3 separate regions of the Homo sapiens genome follow, and all the other regions are linked to region 3. The links are contacts of gene promoters, found by promoter capture Hi-C in human tissues and cell types (Jung and others, 2019). All regions are on one chromosome and are shown on one strand. The core of a region is centred on a gene start or on the middle of the fragment in contact, and the rest is flanking DNA. Distances in the headings are between cores, read along the strand shown. Region 1 has its middle 21 kb from the start of FTH1. Region 2 overlaps FADS1 (fatty acid desaturase 1). Region 3 holds the start of RAB3IL1 (RAB3A interacting protein like 1).

Evidence for each region. Contacts are between HindIII fragments. The study calls those that stand out against the background at their distance.
Region 1: a contact is called between a fragment that was not itself captured here and the fragment with the promoter of RAB3IL1 in region 3, in 3 of the 25 tissues and cell types used here (H1 embryonic stem cells, adrenal gland and neural progenitor cells).
Region 2: a fragment that was not itself captured here is called in contact with the fragment with the promoter of RAB3IL1 in region 3 in 2 of the 25 tissues and cell types used here (IMR-90 fibroblasts and bladder).

The regions. Positions count from the first base shown.
Region 1 is chr11:61,987,532-61,990,231 of GRCh38, forward strand. No RefSeq gene overlaps it. Among named protein-coding and RNA genes, the nearest start is that of FTH1, 21 kb to the left of the region's middle. The HindIII fragment of the contact is 6,875 bases long and covers 1-2,700 here.
Region 2 is chr11:61,811,984-61,814,683 of GRCh38, forward strand. FADS1 (fatty acid desaturase 1) reads right to left here. Exons shown (of 12, transcript NM_013402.7): 2 at 1,260-1,370; 3 at 488-685. Among named protein-coding and RNA genes, the nearest start is that of MIR1908, 1.9 kb to the right of the region's middle. The HindIII fragment of the contact is 3,503 bases long and covers 1-2,700 here.
Region 3 is chr11:61,916,061-61,918,820 of GRCh38, forward strand. RAB3IL1 (RAB3A interacting protein like 1) reads right to left here and starts at 1,506. Exons shown (of 10, transcript NM_013401.4): 1 at 1,297-1,506. The coding sequence starts at 1,307. The HindIII fragment of the contact is 7,999 bases long and covers 149-2,760 here.

The sequences.
Region 1 (2,700 bases), core at 9-2,508, 71 kb after region 3:
GAGACTTTAACGCTTCACTGTTAATATTAGACAGATCATCGAGACAGCAAATTAACAAGGATATTCAGGACTTGAACTCAGCTCTGGATCAAGTGGATCTGTTAGAGATCTACAGAACTCTCTACCCAAAAACAACAGCATATACATTCTCCTCAGCACCACATGGCTCTTACTCTAATTTGATCACAGAATTTGAAGTAAAACACTCCCTGGCAATGGAAAAGAACTGAAATCATAACAAACAGTCTCTCAGACCACAGCGTAATCAAATTAGAGCTTGTGATTAAGAAACTCATTTAAAACCACACAACTACAGGGAAACTGAATAACCTGCTCCTGAATGACTCCTAGGTAAAGAATGAAATTAAGGCAGAAATCAAGAAATCAAGAAGTTCTTTGAAATCAATGAGAACAAAGAGACAATGTACCAGAATCTCTGGGACACAGCTAAAGCAGTATTAAGAGGGAAATTTATAGCACTAAATATCCACATCTAAAAGCTAGAAAAATCTCAAATCTACACCCTAACATCACAACTGAGAGAACTAGAGACCCAAGGCAAACAAACCCCAAAGCAAGCAGAAGAAATGAAATAACCAAGATCAGAGCAGAACTGAAGGAGATACAGACACAAAAAACCCTTCAGCCAGGCGCGGTGGCTCACACCCCTTCAGCCAGGCGCAGTGGCTCATGCCCTTTCAGCCAGGCGCGGTGGCTCATGCCTGTAATCCCAACACTTTGGGAGGCTAAGGTGGGCAGATCATGAGGTCAAGAGATAAAAACCATCCTGGCCAACATGGTGAAACCCTGTCTGTACTAAAAATACAAAAATTAGCTGGGCGCGGTGGCATGCACCTGAAGTCCCAGCTACTCGGGACGCTGAGGCAGGAGAATCGCTTTAACCCAGGAGGCGGAGGTTGCAGTGAGCCGAGATCGTGCCTCTGCACTCCAGCCTGGTGACAGAGCAAGACTCTGTCTCAAAAAAAAAAAAAAAAAAAAAAAAAACCTTCAAAAAAATCAATAAAGCTGGCTTTTTGAAAAAATTAGTAAAATAGATCGCTAGCTAGACTGATAAACACAATAAAAAATGATAAAGGGGATACCACCACTGACCCCACAGAAATACAAACAACCATTAGAGAATACTATAAACCCCTCTATGCAAATAAACTAGAAAATCCAGAAGAAATGGATAAATTCCTGGACACATACCCCCTCAAAGACTGAACCAGGAAGAAGTTGAATCCCTGAACAGACTAATAACAAGTTCTGAAATTGAGGCAGGAATAAATAGTCTACAAAATGGCTTTACAGCTGAATTCTACCAGAGGTACCAAGAGGAGCTGGTACCATTTCTTCTGAAACTATTCCAAACAATTGAAATGGAGGGACTCCTCCCTAACCCATTTTACGAGGTCAGCATCATTCTGATACCAAAACCTGGCAGAGATACAACAAAAAAAGAAAACTTCAGGCCAATATCCCTGATGAACATCCATGTGGAAATCTTCAATAAAATACTGGCAAACTGAATGCAGCAGCACATTAAAAAGCTTATCCACCATGATCAAGTTGGCTTCATCCCTGGGATGCAAGGCTGGTTCAACAGATGCAAGTCAATAAACATAATTCAACAGAACTAAAGGCAAAAAACATATGATTATCTCAATAGATGCAGAAAAGGCCTTCGATAAAATTCAACATCATAAATGGCTCTTATTATTTTGTGGTAAAACTAAGGATTGAAGGAACATACCTAAAGATAATAAGAGTCATTTATGACACTCCCACAACCAATATCATACTGAATGGGCAAAAGCTGGAAGCATTCCCCTTGAAAACTGGCACAAGACAAGGATGTCCTCTCTCACCGCTTTTATTCAACATAGTATTGGAAGTTCTGGCCAGGGCAATTAGGCAAGAGAAAGATATAAAGGGTATTCAAATAGGGGAAAAGAAGAAGTCAAACTGTCTCTGTTTGCAGATGACATGATCCTATATCTAGAAAACCCCATCGTTTCAGCCCAAAAGCATCTTAAGCTGATAAGCAACTTCTGCAAAGTCTCAGGATACAAAATCTATGTGCAAAAATCACAAGCATTCCTATACACCAACAATAGACAGAGAGCCAAATCACGAATGAACTCCCATTCACAATTGCTACAAAGAGTAAAATACCTAGGAATACAGCTAACAAGGGAAGTGAAGGATTTCTTCAAGGAGAGCTACAAACCACTGCTCAAGGAAATCAGAGAGGACACAAACAAATGGAAAATCATTTTATGCTCGTGGATAGGAAGAAGCAATATCATGAAAATGGCCATACTGCCCAAAGTAATTTACAGATTCAATGCTATTCTCATTAAACTACCATTGACATTCTTTGCAGAATTAGAAAAAACTACTTTGAAATTTATATGGAACCAAAAAAGAGCCTGTATAGCCAAGATTATCCTAAGCAAAAAGGACAAAGCTGGAGGAATCATGTTACCTGACTTCAAACTATACTACAAGGCTACAGTAACCAAACAGCATGGTACTGGTACAAGTACAGACACACAGACCAATAGAACAGAATAGAGATCTCAGAAATAAGACTGCACACTTAAAACCATCTGATCTTTGACAAACCTGACAAAAACAAGCAATGGGGAAAGGATTCCCTTTTTAATAAATGGTGCTGGGAGAACTGGCTAGCCA
Region 2 (2,700 bases), core at 57-2,556, 100 kb before region 3:
ATTACAGACATGAGTCACCACACCTGGCCTGAAGCTCATGACTTATGATGGACTGACATCTAGAATACAGAAAGGACTGAAACATGAGCAGAAGGCTTGCCAAATGGGTCCTGACAGTCAAGAATTAGCGCTCAATCATTATTAACATATTGGGCAATGTCAGTGGTGGGGAGGGAGCCAAGCTTTGCTAAGAAACCAGAAACTTGGCTCCTGGCACAGGTGGGCTGTGGCAGAGAACAAACCGCATAGGAAGAAGAGAACCCTTGGAGAAGCAGCTAAAAAGGCAGTGAGAGAAATGAAGATGTCCATGTGGCTAAAGAGCAGACAGGTCAAGACAGCAGAATGCATGTTCCTGCACTCACTCCTGCATACCTTCAGATCTGCCCTGCTTGGAGGGCAGGCACTCTTGGCCTTCCTCAAACACCCAAGGAGCTTTCCCCAGGGATGCTGAGCATTGCTGTGCACTTGACAAGCCAAAGGCTCTCACCTGAACTGCACTGAGCAGCACCGCACAGAGGAGGAAGGGCAAAAAGGACGTCCCAAAGACCCAAAGGGTGAGCCAGGCTGCACCATCCAGCAGCAAGATGTGCAGCAGGTACAGCAGGAAGAAGACATGGTTGGCCTTCATGAGCCCCATCCGCTCCACTGTGGCCCGCAGCTCCCGGAACTCATCTGTCAGCTCTTTCTGCAGAAGAGGAAGAGGAGCTGTTATTCTTCTCATCTGCACCCCAATGCTACTGGAGACAAGGGCCCTCTCAGGCTCAAGGACCTCCCACTGAGGTAGCTGTGGGAAGTCCACAGTCCTAGGCAAAGATACCACGACAATGAGGATGACAGGAGGAGGTGCCATGGGATAGTGCCTAAGAGTTCAGGGGACTAAGTCCTTGCTCTGCCATTTACTAACTGTGTGATCCTTGGCTGTGTTGCTTAACCTCCCTGAGCCTGTTATCTCATCTGTAAATGTGTAAGAGTTATGAGTTTATGCTTGGTGCATAGTAAGTGCTCATATGATAACAATGATGATAACAATGATGGCAGCCATGGTAGTGGCAGCCTTGGGGGAGCCATAGGTTGCAAAGCCATGCTCCCTTGGGCCTGTGACCTCATGACTATGCAAGAGAAGCAGGGACCTCAAGACTCCCCAGAGCTACTACTGACTGTGATTACTATGACTGTGATCCCATCTAGACTCTCCTTCCACCCCCTCTCTGTCCCCCTCAACAACCAATAGTTGCGACATAGCAAACACAGGGTCTTACATTCTTGGTGGGCTCAAAGCTGGGCTGCTCTGGAGACAGTTCTCCAATCAGGAGAGAGTTCATATACTTCTTCACAAGGCCCTTGTTGATGTGGAAGGCCACAAAGGGATCCTGCAAGTGCCGGGAGAAGATGAAAGGTGAGGGAGCCAGCCCCCTGGACTCCGGCAGTGTTCGCACCAAAGGCCATCCTCCTGCCCGCCAGAAGGCTGTACCCAAGTTGAAGTGAGAGGTGAAGCCAGATGGACTTCCTGGGTCGAGTGCAGACTTGGAGAACTTTTCTGTAGCTAGAGGTTTGTAAAATGCACCAATCCGTGCTCTTTAGCTAGCTAGAGGTAAAATGGACCAATCAGCACCCTGTAAAATGGACCAATCAGTGCTCTATAAAATGGACAAATCAGCAGGACATGGGCAGGGACAAATAAGGGAATAAAAGCTGCTCCCGGCCGGGCGCGGTGGCTCACGCCTGTAATCCCAGCACTTTGGGAGGCCAAGGCGGGTGGATCACGAGGTCAGGAGATCGAGACCATCCTGGCTAACACAGTGAAACCCCGTCTCTACTAAAAATACAAAAAATTAGCCGGGCGAGGTAGCGGGCGCCTGTAGTCCCAGCTACTCGGGAGGCTGAGGCAGGAGAATGGCGTGAACCCCGGGGGAGGGCGGAGCCTGCAGTGAGCCGAGATCGCGCCACTGCACTCCAGCCTGGGCGACAGGGAGACTCCGTCTCAAAAAAAAAAAAAAAAAAAAAGGCTGCTCCCCCTCACACCCCCCAACGTCCAGCAGCGGCAACCTGCTCGGGTACCCTTCCACGCTGTGGAAGCTTTGTTCTTTGCTCTTCACAATAAATCTTGCTGCTGCTCACTCTTTGGGTCCACGCCACCTGTAAGAGCTGTAACACTCACCGCGAAGGTTCATGGCTTCATTCTTGACGTCAGCGAGACCACGAGCCCACCTGAAGGAACCAACTCCTGACACAGAAGCACAGGCCATCTCCCTAGGCCCAGCTGCCTTTTGAGGGTGCTCCCAGGTGTCCACAGTTTAAGATCACCGAGTATCTGCTCTAGTTAGAAGGATGCATCAAGGAATGGGAAGCATTGGCTGAGGGGAACCACTAAGAAACACCTGCCTGGGCTGGCCTTTCCCCTGGGTGTGTCCACAGACAGCTTTTGCCCAAGAATTTCAGTATAGGTGAGAAACAGGAGAGATGGGTGGGGCTGTGTCGGGCGTTGGTTCCTTCCGGCGGGTATGGTCTCACTGACTTCAAGAATGGAGCCGTGGACCTTCCCGCTGTTATAGCTCTTAAAGGAATAACACTCTTTGCAGACCCAAAGAATGAGCAGCAGCAAGGTTTAGTGTGACGAGCAAAAGAACAATGCTTCCACAGCCTGTAAGGGAACTGGAGCGGGTTGCAGCAGCTGGCTGGGGTGGCCAGCTTTTATTGTCT
Region 3 (2,760 bases), core at 256-2,755:
TAGGGCAGGGCGTGGTGGTAAAAGCCTGTAATCCTAGCACTTTGGGAGGCTGAGGCTGGTGGATCACCTGAGGTCAGGAGTTCGAGACCAGCCTGATCAATATTGTGAAACCCCGTCTCTACTAAAAATACAAAAATTAGCCGGGTGTGGTGGTGTGTGCCTGTAGTCGCAGCTACTCAGGAGGCTGAGTCAGGCGAATTGCTTGTACTCAGGCAGCGGAGGTTGCAGTGAGCTGAGATCTCGCCACTGCACTCCAGCCTGGGTGACAGAGCAAGACTCCGTCTCAAAAAAAAAAAAAGTCCCAAGCCTCTCCACACCTCACCCCTAACAGGAGCCCACTCTCTCCACACCCCCTGCTGGGGATGAAAGGCCATCCCTCCCCTAGCATCGCAGCTCAACCTTTGCTAGGTGCCATGGAGTGAAGTGGATCCTGCCTGCCTTTCCGGGGGGCTTCCCTCACTCCCCAGCTGTAGCTGGGCAGTAGCCCTCTCCTGGGACCACTCATCTGGCCCAGGGGGCACAGGAGTACAACCTGTCCCCCATTCTGGCCACATTTCCTCCACGACCTGGTCTTTCCCGGCCACGGGGAAGAGGAAGTGTTTGCCCAACTCCACAAAAACACCACAACCTTTCTGCACATACAGGGCAGGGGTCCCACATCAGATGGGCCAGGAACTGCAACTGCCCCTGAGAACCAGTGGCCTGAACAGACACAGCCACTGGGGCCACTAATCCAGGACCCAGAGTCTCTGCTACCCCACTCCAGGCTGCGGGGCCGGGGCGGGGGGGGTTCCCACTCCACACCTCTGAGAGCCTCCGTACTTCCAGAGCCCCACAAGGAGGTTCTGCCCTCAACTTGGGAGCCACCCTGGCAAAGACCCAGCCCCTCTTTCCCAGCTACACTGCTTTCCAAGAGTTCATCCAGCGAAGGGGTTGAGGGACAGGTTGGGAGGGTGGGCTGGGGGTCCTTCCTCTAGGTGCATGCCCCAGAGTCGTGCACACTCTTCCCCACACCCCAACTCTTCTCACTTGCGCTCCTGATGAGCTAAGAGGAGTTGACGCTGTCACCCCGGGACGGTCGGCTGCCCACCCTTCGCACCCTGCACCCCGAGAGACACCCCCGACCCCTCCCCCGGAGTCTCCTGGCTGCAAGTCGGCTCGCCTGCAGGCAGGGCGGGGGCGCACAGCACCTCCGGGTGGCGGCGCAGACCCGGCGGGGACCCCCGAAATCCTCCCGTCCCGGGAGGCGACCGCGGCCCAGACCCAGCGCGGGACCGCGAGCGCGCGCGGACCTACCCGCTCCACATCCCGGCGCCTCGGGGCGCCCAGGCGTCCGTTCCCAGCGCCGCCGCGTCCTCCCAGCGCCGCGTCCCCGCCCGCCGCCGACTCCGCCAGGGGCCGAGCCGCCCCACCGCCTGTCAGCCCTGCCCGCGGCCGGTCAGTAGGTCTCAGACGCCTGGGCTCGCGGCCCCCAGCCCAGCCCCGACCCTGCCCTGGGCGGGTCACGTGGCGGAGGGGGGAGCGGCCCGAGGACACGTGCCCGGCCCCGCCCCTCCGCCGGCCCGGCGCTGGGATCCGGCGCGCGCTCCCAAGGCCTGGCCCCACCCGGCCCGCCGCGCCGGGACAGGGAGACCACGGCGCTCGGAGGGAACCCGGCCCCCAACATCCCGCGGGCCGCGCCGCGCTCAGACTCCCCAGCTGACTCCTCCTCTCCAGTCGCCCTCCGCACCACCCACTTTGGGCCACCCCTGCTCAAGAACCTACAATGGCTCCCGAGCTCTCAGCTCTTCGATTCTCACACAGATTGTCACTTAAGGCCAGCAGACACCCTCCCCCCTCCTCACCCGGCCCTCCTTCCCTAGGCTGTCTGCTTAGTGCCTGTCCCTGTGCAACATCCTGCCTGCTGGGAAGGGGAGGGGACAAACCCGAAACAAGTTTTCTGAGTCCTACTCTCTGAGTTTTATCCCGAAGGAGTTTCCACTTCTGGTCCAACTCTCCTCACTCAGCCTCCTGCCACTTAACACGCTCTGCCCATCCCTGCCTTTACTCACCATCTGCCCTCTGGATAGTATTCCCCACCCCACCCCCACCGACACACACACATACACACACCTGTCTGGTCCCACATCCTCCGTGAAACCTTCCCTGAATCCCAGACGACTGGTCTACCTGTCCCTCAGTTCCTCTGTCCCACCCATTCTGAGTCCTGATCATTCGTCTCAACTTCAGCCTGGGACTGGACCAGTAAGAGCAGAACCCGTCTTCTCTCCCGCCAGGTACCATGGCTCCCACCTTCCCTGTCTAGGGGAGGACTGGGAGCGTGGTGGGAGGTACTTCCCCTTCTAGGTGCTACCAGAGGTCCCAGTGCTACCCCTCCAGGCCCACTGACTCAGGCCGCAGGCTCAAGTTAGTCAGATCTTCGTTTGAGGATACATTTTATTCATTCATTCTACTCATTCATACATTCAGCCACTCCATCTGAGCATAGACTATGGGGCATGCAAGGGGCTGGGGACCCAGCAGGAAACTGTACAGACATAGGTTCTGCCCTCCTGGGGCTCCACGTTGGTGGAGGATGGAGGATGGGGGACGTATTCTCTAAGACCTCCACGTCCAGGGCACAAATAGACAATGCTCTTTCCCCGCTGGGCACAGCGCACAGCAAGGTATGGAATCTGGAGAGTGGAGGCGAGGCTGGATTCTATGCCTTGCTTGCTCCCTTGGCCAGCACTTTGTGCAGTGAACAACCTAGGCAGTTCT